2 separate regions of the Homo sapiens genome follow, and region 1 is linked to region 2. Evidence: promoter capture Hi-C in 16 types of primary human blood cells and fetal thymus (Javierre and others, 2016). All regions are on one chromosome and are shown on one strand. Each heading gives the region's core, a stretch centred on a gene start or on the middle of the fragment in contact. The rest is flanking DNA. Distances are from core to core; before and after follow the strand shown. Region 1 has its middle 25 kb from the start of ANXA4. Region 2 holds the start of NFU1 (NFU1 iron-sulfur cluster scaffold).

What was found. Contacts are between HindIII fragments. The CHiCAGO score rates a contact against its expected background, and 5 or more counts as called.
Region 1: a contact is called between a fragment that was not itself captured here and the fragment with the promoter of NFU1 in region 2, in 1 of 17 cell types (total B cells). The highest score is 6.7, in total B cells.

The regions. Positions count from the first base shown.
Region 1 is chr2:69,713,695-69,721,237 of GRCh38, reverse strand. It overlaps a transcript of ANXA4 not described here. Among named protein-coding and RNA genes, the nearest start is that of ANXA4, 25 kb to the left of the region's middle. The HindIII fragment of the contact is 701 bases long and covers 2,299-2,999 here.
Region 2 is chr2:69,432,932-69,440,084 of GRCh38, reverse strand. It overlaps NFU1 (NFU1 iron-sulfur cluster scaffold), which reads left to right and starts at 2,650. Exons shown (of 8, transcript NM_001002755.4): 1 at 2,650-2,724. The coding sequence starts at 2,663. RefSeq lists an enhancer at 2,645-2,794. The HindIII fragment of the contact is 2,434 bases long and covers 556-2,989 here.

The DNA of each region.
Region 1 (7,543 bases), core at 1,400-3,899, 280 kb before region 2:
CAGGCTGGGTAAGAGATGAAAAACAGCAGCTGGCTTTTGGCTGCAGTGGTGGGAACTGACAAAGAGTGGCCGGGCTGTGGCAGCTCGGAGAGTCCATGCCACATGTGAAGCAGCAGCCAGGGCTTGATTTATTGCCATGGGGGCATGCAGGCCCAGGGTGGCCAGACCTCCCAAGTTTCTTAGAGGAGCAGAAATCTGGATATTTTGTGTGACATCTATATATGTTTAATAATGGCAATGAATTCAAATTTAAAAATCATTTGGGCCAACACTTTGGTGAGAATCAGAGGAAGCAGAACAGGCCAGATGCTGCCCACAGAAGATGGAGACCTCAACTCTTTGCTCTGCATGTCTCTCCTGGCTTACCTCCGGTCCCTCTGTACTCTGGCCATACCAGATATCTTCTAGGACCTCTTATGCAGTAGTTCTCAACCCTGGGTGCACACAGGAATCACTGAGGGGACCTGGAAGAAAAAAAAAGTGACATTTGGACCCCTCCTCTGGGTATTTCTTTAATGATGTTCACATATAGGCAGATTGAGAATGTCTAATTACCAACTGGACTTCTGCCTCCAGCTGTGCCCCCTCTGGTCAATTTCCCATATTGCAGCAAGAGGAATCTTTTAAAAACATAAATCTGATCAAGTCACTTCCCTACTCAAAATCTTCCATGGCTGCCCCTTGCCATCAGGATACATAACTTTGCACTCTTGGAAGGTCCTTCATGCTGCATCCCATGCAGAGCCCTCCATCCTCACTTCTTCCCCTCACTGCCTCTGCTCCTCCCCACCGTGAATGAACTTTGCTTCAGCTCCCCTGAATTTCTTGAAGTTCCATGGATGCACTGTGCTCTTTCACCTATGAGCCTTTGAACATGTGCAGTTGGCAAAGCCTGCGTGAAAGTGGTCACCAAGGCACTGATGGAGCGAGAGGAGGGACCGGGGGGATTTGAAGCAGTGCAGAGAGGTGGCCAACACTAGTACTATGTTCAAAAAGGGGAAAATTGAAGGCAGAGATTACAATTAGTATTGCTTGTTTCCCTCTCCCCAGCCCTCCGAGGGCCAAGTCCTGAGCATATGAAACAAATTCTGAATTGAATCGGAATTACATTCTCAGGAAATAGTCTCTAGTCTGCTTGCTTATTTGGAGGGGGAGCTCGTTCCTAATCTGAATGAGAGTCAAAGCAGAACAGTAGCACTAATGACCTATGTATTCACCCAAAATGCCAATATTTATTGATCATTTACTGGTTGCCTGGCACGTTGGAACTGTAATGACAACCAGAGAGCTTATTGCCAATTGGTAAAGACTTCGCCAGGCACAGTGACTGATGTCTGTAATCCTAGCACTTTGGGAGGCCAAGGTGGGACGATCACTTAAGCAGGAGTTTGAGACCAGCCTGGGCAACATAGTGAGACCCCATCTCTACTAAAAATACAAAATTTAATGATTTTTAACTAATGATTTTTGTATAATTAATAATTCAAAAAATAATTTTAGGCAGGGCATGGTTTCTCATGCCTGTAATCCCAGCACTTTGGGAGGCTGAGGCAGGTGGATCACTTGAGGTCAGGAGTTCGAGACCAGCCCAGCCAACATGGTGAAACCTGTCTCTACTAAAAATATAAAAATTAGCCAGGTGTGTTGGTGGGCGCCTGTAATCCCAGCTACTCAGGAGGCTGAGGCACAAGAATCACTCAAACCCGGGAGGCAGAGTTTGCAATGAGCCGAGATTGCACCACTGCACTCTAGCCTGGGCAACAGAGCAAGACTCCGTCTCAAAAAAAAATAATAATAATTTTTAAAAATTACTTGGATGTTGTGGCACATACCTGTAGTCCCAGCTACTCAGGAGGCTGAAAGCAGGAGGCTTTCTTGAGCCCAGGAGGCTGCAATGTGCTATGGTTGCACTATCATACTCCAGCCTGGGTGCAGAGCGAGACCCTGCCTCAAAAAAAAAAAAAAAAAAAAAAAAAAGACTGGAAAATAGTCAATGGTTAGAAAACTGTAAAAATGGGGGTGTGGCAAGGTCAGGAGTTCAAGACCAGCTTGGCCAACATAGTGAAACCTTGTCTCTACTAAAAATACAAAAAATTAGCTGGGCGTGGTGGCAGGTGCCTGTAATTCCAGCTACTTGGGAGAATGAGGCAGGAGAATCACTTGAACCTAGGAGGTGGAGGTTGCAGTGAGCCGAGATTGTGCCACTGCACTCCAGCCTGGGTGACAGTGTGAGACTCAGTCACAAAAAAAAAAAAAAGGAGGGTAGCTAGCTTGAGACTTGGAATATCAGGAAAAGCTTTATAAGAGACTCTGGAAGGACAAGCAGAGGCCATGCTGTGTATGCATGTGTGTGTATGCATGTGCGTATGCACACATGTGTATGCATGTATGTGTGTGCATGTATATGTGTGTGCATGTGTGCAGCATGTGTGTGTATGCACGTATGTGTATGCATGTGTGTGAATGTGTGTGTATGTGTGTGTATGCATGTATGTGTGTGCATTTGTGTATGCATGTGTGTGCATGTGTGCGCATGTGCATGCATGCATGTGTATACGTGTGTACATGTTTGTGTATGCATGTGTGTGCTGTGGATAGGGCTGGTGGGAGAGAAGGAAACCCCAAAGCACAAGAAGCAGCAGGTATAAAGCCCTGGAGCCAAAGAAGTCATGACAGGTTCTGGAAAGTGTAAGTAATTCCACAAGTCTGAACCTGAGTGATTCTATGACCTCTTCCAGTGACCTCAAATTCTGGCTAAGCATTTCCCAAACGTAGCTGAAATAGTATCTACTTGAGAAAGTTGAATATAATTTAGTTCCTGGCTGGTGTATTACATCCCCCCAAGAATCTCTTAAGAGATTGTCAGGTAAAGAAGGAAGGGTGAAATGACAAACATCCAGAGGGTGGGGGTGCCATTTATATTGCAATCCATCTCCCAGTGGTAGCCTTCTTTGGGAATTCTGACCAGCTGGGGGGACCTTTCCCCACAGGTTCAAGCTTTTGTCTAGCAAATCTGGGGTCCTCACTTCTGTTATGTAGATGGGAAGCAAGGTTCTCCTGGGGTTACACAGCAGGAACTTGACATTTGGAGAATGTGATTGATGAGTTCTGTCCTCCCACAGAGAAGTCCCATGGTGAGAGAGGGCTCTAGAAGCCAAGTAGCCAGGGGACTTTCCAAACTAAACATCTGCTATGAAATGCAGACCGCACTGAGCTATGCCTGACCTAGCTAGACATACAGCCTTAGGGTATCAAGCATCTCCCTAGCCAGGGTTTCCCCATTAAAACTATTCCTTTTAATTCCAGCTTTCTTACTTAGAGGACCCCTGCTGAAACATTCTAGAGGGAAGGGAGTGCATAGGTTGTGTACGTCTCTTAGTTTGCCTGTCATCTGGTAGAAAGCCAAGGCCCATAGGGATCCAGGCACATTCTAGTTTAGTTAGTGCCTGAAACAAGCAAACTGGATGAGGTACCAGTCCCAGGCATCAGGAAGGCTCAGGGCATCTGCTGCAGAGGCAAGGCTTTGTGGGGAGGGGTCACAGGGAACAACATATTCCAAAGAAGATGAAACAAAGAAAAGCAAAGTTTCCAGTTAGATACGTGGAGTTAAAGAGGAAATGGCGGTAACAGAAAGATGCAGCGACGGGTAATTCCAGAAATGAAAAGGATGGGACATCAGGCCTTTCTGCTTCAACTCAAAGTCAGATCCCTTGAACTCACAAAATAATATTGGCTGATACCCTGGAGAGGGAGGCCTTTGTTACCCTCATTTATGATGCAGGAATAATGATCAAATGCCACCTGCTTGTGTCGATGAGCCAGGCCTGACAATTAAAGGGTGGGCGCCAGGATGGGCTTTGGGAGTGTGGGATGAAAGGCACTGGATGAGAACAAAGGGGCCATGGTGGGAGTTTTCCAGCACCAGCCTCAGTTTTCTGCACAGAAGCCTCCTGCCACCTCAATGCCAGCTTTGAAGGCATAGGCAGGCAAAGAAAACCAACAAGCCAAACAAAATGCATATGGATGCTTTTAAATGGGCATGTTCCTATTCAGTGGGCATGAATTGGAGAATATTCATCTTCAGCCACCTCCTGCACCCTCAGGGCGTCAGCTCCTCCTTCCAGGACCACTGAAGAGATGGAGCCCCCACCCCAGCCCCTCTGCTACACGATGCTGCTTTACGGTCTCCCCTGCACTTCCCTTGTTTCTTGATTGGTTTCTCTGGTTATCATCTGTTTTGTCTTGCCACAGTGTGATGCCAGGGAGCAGAGGCTGGACGGTGTTCTCCTCCACACAGTGCTTGGCCAGTAGTAGGCAGACAGCAAACAGCTGAATTGATGACTCAGAAAAACTTAAACATCGCCAACTCTGTCATCTCTTTTAGTAAACCTACTGGACAATTCCATTTAAATGTATGATACTTACTTCAAACTGCACATGAACAAAACACAACTCTTTTCGTTCTTGCCCTCCCCTCTGGCCAATGACCAAGTCAAAAACGTCGAGTCATTTTCCATCCTGAGCTCTTCACCTGGATTCCCGGAGCAGCCTCATAACTAATCCGCTGCCCTCCTGTTGTGCTGTCTCTCAGACCCGTTCTCCCGAGTGATCTTCTCAAAACGAGCTTGAGCATGTCACACCACTGCTTGAAACCCTTTGGGGGCTCCCTGTCGCCCTCACATAAAGACCAAACATTTTAACCTGACAAACAAGGCCTTCCCTGATGTGGCTCTCGCCCGTCTCTCCAACCCCCTCTGCACATCTCAGCTCAAGTCATCCTGAGCTGCTCGCAGTTCCTCGAGTGCAGCTGCTGTTACGTTCACCCTCTGCCTCTCCTCTTATCTTTCTGGTGAATCCCTTTTTTCCTGGTTCACCTGTTCTATGAAGACTTTTTTTGACCAGTATTGTATTTCTCAGGACTCTTGACTTTAAGGGACAGAAACCCAACACAAACTAGCTTCAGTTAAAAGGGGATGTATTAACTCATTTAAGTAAGGACTAGACAGAGCCACCACAGGAATGGCTAGATCCAGACACCCAAACAATGCTGTCAGCTCTCTCTCTCTCTCTTACTCATATGTACATGTATTTTGGCTTCTTATTATGAGTTGGTCTCATCCTTTCTTGCTAGAGGAGACTGTACTCACAGAGAACTCTAGACTTACATACAGTTTGATCACTCCAGGAGAGAGTGAGGCTTCTTTCTCCCAGTCTCAGGTTATTAAAATTATGGGAAAGGCTAAGAGTAGCCTGGCTGGTGACGTGTGCCCAGCACTTGGCCCATGACTAGAGGGACAGTGTTGTGATTGACCATGCCTTGGACTCTCTTTCTTGACCTAGGAAGAAAGAATGGGTATTCCTCTTGAGGGAGCAGCTGCCAGATAAAAGAGGGAGTCTGTTATCACATAAAGAGGGTAGACCACTGATGTCTCCTTCTTACCCCTCCCTCCACCTCCATTTATGTTCCCACTGCCCTCTGTGCATAGGCACAGAAGGGGACAAAACACATTTTGGACTCAGATAGACATAGAGCCAGTTACTGGCTTTATAGTAACTATGTGACTTTGGGAATGTTTTAAGCCTCTTCGTGCCTCTGCATTTGCATCTGTACAATGTTTTAGGGATGTGTTGTGAGGGTTAAAAACCTAGGCAAATTATCTGGGACATAGTAGGTACTATGGCAGTCATAACAATTATATTTGACCATCTCCCTTTTCTAAACCATGATTTGGCCAGGCGTGATGGCTTATGCCTGTAATCCCAGCACTTTGGGAGGCCGAGGTGGGAGGATCACTTGAGACCAGGAGTTCAAGACCAGCCTGGCCAATATGGTGAAACCCCGTCTCTACTAAAAATACAAAAAGTAGCCAGGCATGGTGGTGCGTACCTGTAATCCCAGCTACTTGGGAGGCTGAGGTGAGAATCGCTTGAACCCAGGAGGGGGAGGTTGTGGTGAGAGGAGATTGCACCACTGCACTCCAGCCTGGGTGACAGAGCGAGACTCCATTTCAAAAAATAAATAAATAAAATAAAATAAAAAACAAACCATGATTTGCTTGAGGCAGGGCCTTATTTTAGGCAAAATTTAACTTGGTTATAAGAGCAGGGCTCAAATATATGATGGATTGATTTCTGTCCACTGAAACAGGATGATACTGAAAGATAAGGCAAGTTTTGCAGATGAGGGAGATATTCAGTTCTGTCTTCTTCAATCTTGGCTTTATGATACTGGCCCATTGTTATTATGTAGTCTTCTGTTTCAAGCTCTCCAAAGCATCTCCACATCTGTTACTTGACTTCACTGTGTCACCCTGGAGGGAGGACCTTGCGTTAGGCTTCATGAACAGATCTGATGAGGTATCCACAAGACACAAGGTTAACCAAGAATGGGCAGCAGGGGGCGTTGTGGACAAGCCCCGGGGAAGCCAAGGGAAAAACTGCAGAGGTTCTGAACCTAGACCTGCCCAACGTCCTGCTGACCGACTCAGGCACCTCCGGACCTGGGTGTCTGGCTATTGATTGGGTACATGCTGAAGCACGCTTGCCTCCCAGGGCATCCCATCACAAATTAGGCCCCAGCTCTGGGATCTGGCCCAACGCAGGCCCTCTCCCATGTATAGGAGCTGTGGGGACAACACAGGAGGTTAATGGGAGCTCGGCCAGGATCCCAGGAAATAAAGCACTGAGGTTTGATACACTGATGGGCACACTGTGGACAGCAGGCTGGCTGGACTGGGGCAGGTGGAGTGTTATGTGAGTTTTCGGTCACGTGCCCTCGCCGAAGCCCCGTCTCTTATATTCTTAGGCTTCCTTCGGCTTCGGTTGCCAGGAGTAGGTGCTTGTATTCTATAGAGTCGTTTATATTTGAAATCCTGCATGGATGCATTTGGTCCTCACCGCATCCTTCCTCCCTTCCGGAAACTGTACGCTCCCCTCCTTAGAAGGTCACTTCTCCACTCCATGGGGTTCTGGTGGGGCTCCCAGAATGTGCCCACATCTCCACCCTTACCCCACCCCCCGGCCCACCCAGCCACTGGAGGTGGGAAAGAGCTAGGGCTTGTCAGAAGGCAGACCTTGAAGGAGAAGAGCCTCCCAGTAGGGAGGTCAGGAATGTGCTCAAAATCCAGGCTCAGATGTCTTCAAAAGCCTGGAGAGATGTCACCCACCAGGCACTGTGGTCTTTGGCAACTCATGTGGGACAGAGGTGTAGACTAAAGAATGTTCTGCCCCATTCTCTTGCGGAGGACAGAGCAAGGGAGAGTAGAGCTCCTTCCATATTCGAATTTCCCTTTCTCCTCTTCACGGCAGGGAGTCCGACCTTTGTGTTCCTCCATCAAGTGGAATTTGTGCTGCAGGGTAGACAGCGAAAGCTGCTGAGGCATAACCGTTTTTCCCCCATTCTTTCTTTTTGTGAAAGGCAAAACTCCTCAAAGTCCTAAACTGTTAAGAGAGTTAGGTGCCCCAAGAGGAGACGGGAGAGCGGTGATGCCTTCAGGGCAGCAGCAGAAGCAATGGAAGGATGGATGAGGAACCCCACAAAGGG
Region 2 (7,153 bases), core at 1,401-3,900:
TAGGCGAAGCCAGCTGGGCTCCTGAGTCAGGTGGGGACTTGGAGAACTTTTATGTCTAGCCAGAGGATTGTATATGTATCAATCAGCACTCTGTGTCTAGCTTGGGGTTTATGGATGCACCAATCAGCACTCTGTATCTAGCTAATCTGGTGGGAACTTGGAGAACTTTTATGTCTGGCTAAAGGATTGTAAATACACCAATCAGCACCCTGTGTCTAGCTCAAGGTTTGTAAATGCACCAATCAGTGCTCTGTGTCTAGCTAACCTAGTGGGGACTTGGAGAACTTTTACTCTAGCTAGAGGATTGTAAATACACCAATCAGCACTCTATGTCTAGCTCAGGGATTGTAAACGCACCAATCAGCACCCTGTCAAAACGGACCAATCAGCTCTCTGTAAAACAAACCAATCAGTACTCTGTAAAATGGACCAATCAGCTCTCTGTAAAATGGGCCAATCAGCAGGATGTGGGTGGGGTCAGATAAGGGAATAAAAGCAGGGTGCCTGAGGCAGCAGTGGCAACCTGCTTGGGTCCCCTTCCATGTTATGAAAGCTTTGTTCTTTTGCTCTTTGTAGTAAATCTTGATGTGGCTCACTCTTTGGGCCCGTGCTGTCTTTATGAACTGTAACACCCATCGCAAAGGTCTGCAGCTTCACTCCTGAAGTCAGTGAGACCACGAACCCACCAGAAGAAACAAACTCCGGACACATCTGACCATCTGAAGGAACAGACTCTGGACACACCATCTTTAAGAACTGTAACACTCACCACAAGGGTCCATGGCTTCATTCTTGAAGTTAGCGAGACCAAGAACCCACCAATTCCGGACACAGTAGCACAGAGGCTGTGGGTGGTTTGACTAGAGCAGGCCCTAAGAATGGTGGGACATAGAAGCCTCGTTTCAGGGGTTTGAGGAGTGGGAAGTGAAAAACTAGAGACTAAGAGTGCAGACCATTTTTTTAAGCCACTTGGTTCTGAAGGGAAGAAAAGAGTGTGGAAGAGGATTTGGGGCAAGGCAGGATTTTTCTTATGATAAGGAATCCATCAGAGAGGGAAAAATTGAAGTCTGAGAAGAACGATTGTTCCAAGGTGGAAGAGCCACATTTTATTTTTGATTGAGGGTCAAAAACAGAGCCTTGGACTGCCTTGCGGTCTAGAATGGGTGTGTGTGGGGGGGTGGGTGGGGGGTTGGATGGGGGAAGATCACTGGGTGGGGGGTTGGATGGGGGAAGATCACTAGTAGTTAAAAGCAAGTACGCAGCATTGGGAATGAACCAAACTCGTAGGAGGCACAGCCCACTCAGTGTGCGGGCCCGGGCGAGCTGCAGGCCTGAAACCCACCCACCCTCTTAGATGTGTCTGTGGGCCATAGAAATTACTAGGGTTGTCTTGGGTGTGGCCTCAACCTGTTCAACAACAGGTGTGCTGTTTCCATTCTGGAAACCAGTCCTCTGTCTTCCAGAACAGTGATTCTCAAATTTTAGCTGGCATCAGAATCCTGGGAAGGGTTTGTTAAAACACTACTAGGCAGGGTGAGGTAACCTAAGAGCTTTTGGAGGCCCAGGTGAGAGGGATCACTTGAGGCCAGCAGAGTTCAAGAGCAGCCCAGGCAACACAGGGAGACCTCTTCTCTACAAAAATACTACTACTACTACTGCTAATAAAAGCCAGGCACCGTGGCTCACACCTGTAATCCCAGTGCTTTGGGAGGCTGAGGCTGGAGGATGAATCACTTGAGCCCAGGAGTTGGTTTTGGTGAGCTATGATCGCACTCCTGCTCTCCAGCCTGGGCAACAGAGATAGACCCTGTCTCTGGAAAAAGAAAAAAAAAAAAAGCAAGTAACAAAGATTTCTAGTCCCCACCTACAGAGATTGTGCCTCAGTAAGTATAAAGTGGGGCCCAGGATTTCTAACATGTTCTAACGTGCATTTCTAACGTGTTCTCCTGCTTTTTTTTGGCCCCTAGTCCGCACTTTGAGAACCGTTGTCCTAGAGAAAACGGAATACTCCAGGAAGGTTCTGGAAGAATAGGTAATGGGCTTTGGCACTCTGCCCTGGAAACTAGTCAAGTCTCATGTTAATCGGAGAAGGGCAGCACTGTACCAGATACATCCTCTGTGCGGGTTGGTCCAAGATGACCAAGTGGCAGCTGACAAGCACAGCTATGAGGAAGGGTTAGACACAGTTCCACATCAGACCCATGGGAAAAGGGCAGGAGAAATGCGAGAACCTTTTAGAAGGAATGCTCCAGGGAGTCTTTGGGGGCAGTCACTGAGCTGGGCCTGGAGGCTGAGTAGGGTCCTAGAGGAGGGAATGGGTCAGGTTTAGGGGCTGGAAACAGCATTCGCAAGGCAGCACCAGCACCAGCTAAAAACCTAGCCAACAGGGAAAACAAAGTACGGAAACACGCATGCGTTCACAGTGCTGCGTGAATTAACCAAGCGTTGGCGCAAACGGGAAAGGTTCCCCGGCCTCTCTTGGTCAGGGTGACGCAGTAGCCTGCAAACCTCGGCGCGTAGGCCACCGCACTTATCCGCAGCAGGACCGCCCGCAGCCGGTAGGGTGGGCTCTTCCCAGTGCCCGCCCAGCTACCGGCCAGCCTGCGGCTGCGCAGATCTTTCGTGGTTCTGTCAGGGAGACCCTTAGGCACTCCGGACTAAGATGGCGGCGACGGCCAGGCGGGGCTGGGGAGCTGCGGCTGTTGCCGCCGGGCTGCGCAGGCGGTAGGTGACGAGCCTGGAGCTCCGAATAGGTGTGCCGCTGGGCTTAGCCAGCGGAGCGGTCGCCGCCTTGCAGACCCTCTCTCGAGGCGGGTGGGTAGTGCATCTGATGGAGCCGGCGGGTCCGCCCTGTCGCCGTAGTTGGGGGTGAGCCCTGAGGCTGTCTGTGCGGGAGCTCGGCGCTTCTGTGGCCTAATCCGGGCGGACTCTCTGGAGCTTCCTCTCAGGCTCAGAGACCCAGTTCTTGAGTCTCTGCGGTACGGAAGCTTGTAGAGACTGGCTGTAGAGCCAGAACGGAGGAGCTGTTTTAAAATCGTGTGCCTCTCCCGCCCCCAGGCCCTCTACCGGGTGCATTCCCTCCTCTTCTAAACGCAGAATCAGAATGTCACACAGAAGGGAAGAAAATACCTTGTCTCGTTTCCTCATTTTCCCAGTAAGGCCCTGAAAGAGGAGGTGACATGTCCAAGGTTACACAGTTTCTAAGTGATGGAATTCCGACGAGAACCAGGACCCCTAGATTCCCTGCACCCACCACCATTAAGCCCACTCTGTTCCCTTGTTTTTTCCGCCTCCCTGAGCCCTACCTTTGAGTTTCACCTTTCAAAGACTTCTGTGAACATTGCTAAGAGGACATTTATGTAGGTGTACCTTAATTTTACGTCTGGAGAAAATGGCCTACGGAGAGTTTGCCCTCTAGAGTATTAGACATTGTAGTGTTAATGGTGCTCTTGAAGTTTAAATGTATATCCTAAAAAGATTTAAGTTGGTAGAATTTTTTGTTAGTTACCTCCTGTGTTTGAGTAGATGTCTTCCTTGAATAATGTAATCCACTCTTACTTTAAAAAAACAAGACTTTAAACCTGTATGTTGGAATGTGCTTCCTCTTTATTCATTCTGCTGCCTTTTCCCTGGGCTGAAGGGACGAGAATATTATTCTTCTAGTGCATTTCCAAATTCCAGAGTATTCACAGATTTAGATACTGAGCTATAGAAAAAGGCATTTTTACCCCAAACCTTGAACTGCACTCAATTAGTAATTATTGGGCACCAATTAAATAATGGTAGCAGCTGCCATTTATTGAGCACTTACTGCATGGCCTGGCACTGGTTTAAGCACTTTACATGGATTCTCTGGATTATTTATGAGGTAGCTGTGAAACTAATCTCATTGTAGAGATGAAGAACTGAGGCCATTGTGCTAGCAGCTAGAAATGAAGATAGTTTCTCCCCTTAATGAGTATGCAGTCTAGCAAGAAAAATATATTAACAAATAATGACAGTCATGAGTGCTGTAATAGATTCATGTAATTTAAAGTGGTGTGCCGGGCGTGGTGGCTCACGCCTGTAATCCCAGCACTTTGAGAGGTCAAGCTGGGCGGATTGGCTGAGGTCAGGAGTTCGAGACCAGTCTGGCCAACATGGTGAAACTAAAAAAAAAAAAAAAAAAGCTGGGCGTGGTGGTGTGTGCCTGTAATCCCAGCGAGTTGGGAGGCTGAGGCAGGGGAATTGCTTGAACCAGGGAGGTGGAGGTTGCAGTGAGCCAAGATCACGCCACTGCACTTCAGCCTGGGTGACAGAGTGAGAAAAGCGAGATTATTTCCATCTCAAAATAAAGTGGTGACAGCTCTTACTGTGATCAACACTGGAGCTAGTGTGGGGAGTGGCAGTCAGGACTTCACAGATTATTTGATTCCCATTCAGTGTTGATTCCATTGTTCTCTTGAATCCTCGGTGCCAATCCTTTTATCTCTCCAATAGCATCTAAGAAACTCTATGGGTTACAGTCCCACAGTATCCCAGTAGTCTTTTGCTTATCAATGGCATATAAAGATTATTGAAGGTAGTAAACAGTTCATCTGTATTTTGTTAATACTTAATTGGTGCCCACTCTTTCTTTTCCACGAGAAGAATTCCAGTTTTGTGAGAGAGAGAAAAAAATGTGGCAGCCGCTGTTGCTTCTTGCCTATTTTAAGCAGAAGATAATTAGATAAATGTGATCTTGTGTATGATCACAAACAATTTTGGCCTTTGGAAAAAATTTTAACAGAAAATTATGACAGTGAAAGACCGTTCTAACTGACCATCATTTTGCCTTTAACCTCTAGACTGCCCATTCCCGGGCTTGGGCCAAGCTAACTTTGGGAGACATTTAGTTTATAGTTTAAATGATAATAGCCCTTTCCCAAAATTAAACCACCTTTATAAAGCTAATGAAAGACCACCAGGTTTGGAGGATGAGAGGAGCCTGAATTCTGCTAAGGTGTAGATGTAAATGATTACCAGCCATTATTCTGGCGGTCCTAAGAGTTGCAACTTCCCCAATTACTCCTGCAGAAAACATCTCTCTTGTAGAACCTAAGATTAGCCTTTTCAGGTTTTTGCATTTCTGACTGGTCCTGTGGCCCCGCCCACAAACGGGCTGAGCACTCAGGAGGATCATTTTCCGCACCCCTATGATTGCATCCCCAACCAGTCAGCAACACCCGTTCCCTGGCCTGCCAGTCTATCCTTGAAAACCCCTAGCCTCAGATCCAGAGAGACTGAGTACTAAAACTCCACTCTCCCTTTCAGCTGGCTCCATGTGAATTAAACTCTTTATTGCAAATCCCCTGTCTTGATGAATTAGCAGTATCTGGACAGTGGGCAAAGTGAACCCATTGGCAATTATAAATGACTCCTGTACTTAAAATTTTTCTATGGCTCCTATGAAGTGGCAGTGGTAATGGATAGCGATGATATTTTCAAGTAAACCGGATTTTAAAGTAAATTGCATTGGGATTTTAAGAATTTTTACTATTAAAGTCTCCTTTTACTTCCTTTTCCAGTAATATTTGCTTTCATTTTCTTCCTTTGTTTTCAGTTTGTCAAAGCCATAAAAAATAGCCAATTAAGTTTTCTCTGTAAGAGTGAAGTAAAGTTAGAGGCCTGGCGCTGTGGCTCACGCCTGTAATCCCAGCACTTTGGGAGGCCGAGGCTAGTGGATCATGAGGTCAGGAGTTCAAGACCAGCCTGGCCAAGATGGTGAAACCCTGTCTCTACTAAAAATACAAAAATTAGCCGGGCATGGTGGTGGGCATCTATAATCCCAGCTACTTGGGAGGCTGAGGCGGAGAATTGCTTGAACCCAGGAGGCGGAGGTTGCAGTGAGCCAAGATCGCACCACTGCACTCCATCCTGGGCGACAGAGCAAGACTCCGTCTCACAAAAAAAAAAAGAAAAAAAAAAGTGAAGTGAAGTTACAACACTGGGTTAATATGTTTCCATCCAAAAAGCATATAAAAGGCAGGGCATGGTGGCTCACGCCTATAATCCCAGCACTTTGGGAGGCCAAAGTGGGAGGATTACTTGAGCCAGGAGCTGGAGATCAGCCTGAGCAACATAGTGGTAATCCATCTCTACCAGAAGTAAAAAAAAAAAAAAAAACTAGCTGGGCATGGTGGCATACAGCTGTAGTGTCACCTACTTGGGAGGCTGAGGTGGGAGAATCACTTGAGCCTAGGATGTTGAGGCTGCAGTGAGCCCTGATCACACCATTGTACTCCAGCATGGGTGACAGAACAAGACCCTGTCTCAAAACAAAACACGAAAAGCGTGATCAAGATCGTTGGCTGTGTAATCCCAGCATTTTGGGAGGCCAAGGCAGGTGGATCACTTTAGGTCAGGAGTTGGAGATCAGCCTGGCCAACGTGGTGAAACCCTGTCTCTACTAAAAATATAAAAATTAGCCGGGTGTGATGGTGTACACCTGTAATCCCAGCTACTAGGGAGGCTGAGGCAAGAGAATCACTTGAACCCAGGAGGTGGAGGTTGCAGTAAGCTGGGATCGCATCACTGCACTCCAGCGTGGGCGACAAAGTGAGACTCAGTCTCAAAAAAAAAAGACGGGCCAGGTGTGGTGTCTCATGCCTGTAATCTCAGCACTTTGGGAGGCCGATACGGGAGGATCACCTGAGGTCAAGAGTTCGAGACCATCCTGGCCAACATGGTGAAACCCTGTCTCTACTAAAAAGTACAAAAATTAGCCAGGCATGGTGGCGGGCACCTGTAATCTCAGCTACTCGGGAGGCTGAGGCAGCAGAATTGCTGGCACCTGGGAGATGGAGGTTGCAGTGAGCCGAGATTGTGCCATTGCACTCCAGCCTGGGCCAACAACAGTGAGACTCCATCTCAAAAACAAAAAGGACAGTCGTATACTTTTTTTTTTTTTTTTTTTGGAGATGGAGTCTTGCTCTTTGGGCCAGGCTGGAGTGCAGTGGCACGATCTCGGCTCACTGCAACCTACGCCTCCTGGGTTCAAGCGATTCCTCTGCCTCAGCCTCCCGAGTAGCTGGGATTACAGGCGCCCACCACCACTCCCAGCTATTTTTTGTATTTTTAGTAGAGATGGAGTTGCACCATGTTGGGCAGGCTCGTCTCGAACTCCTGACCTCAG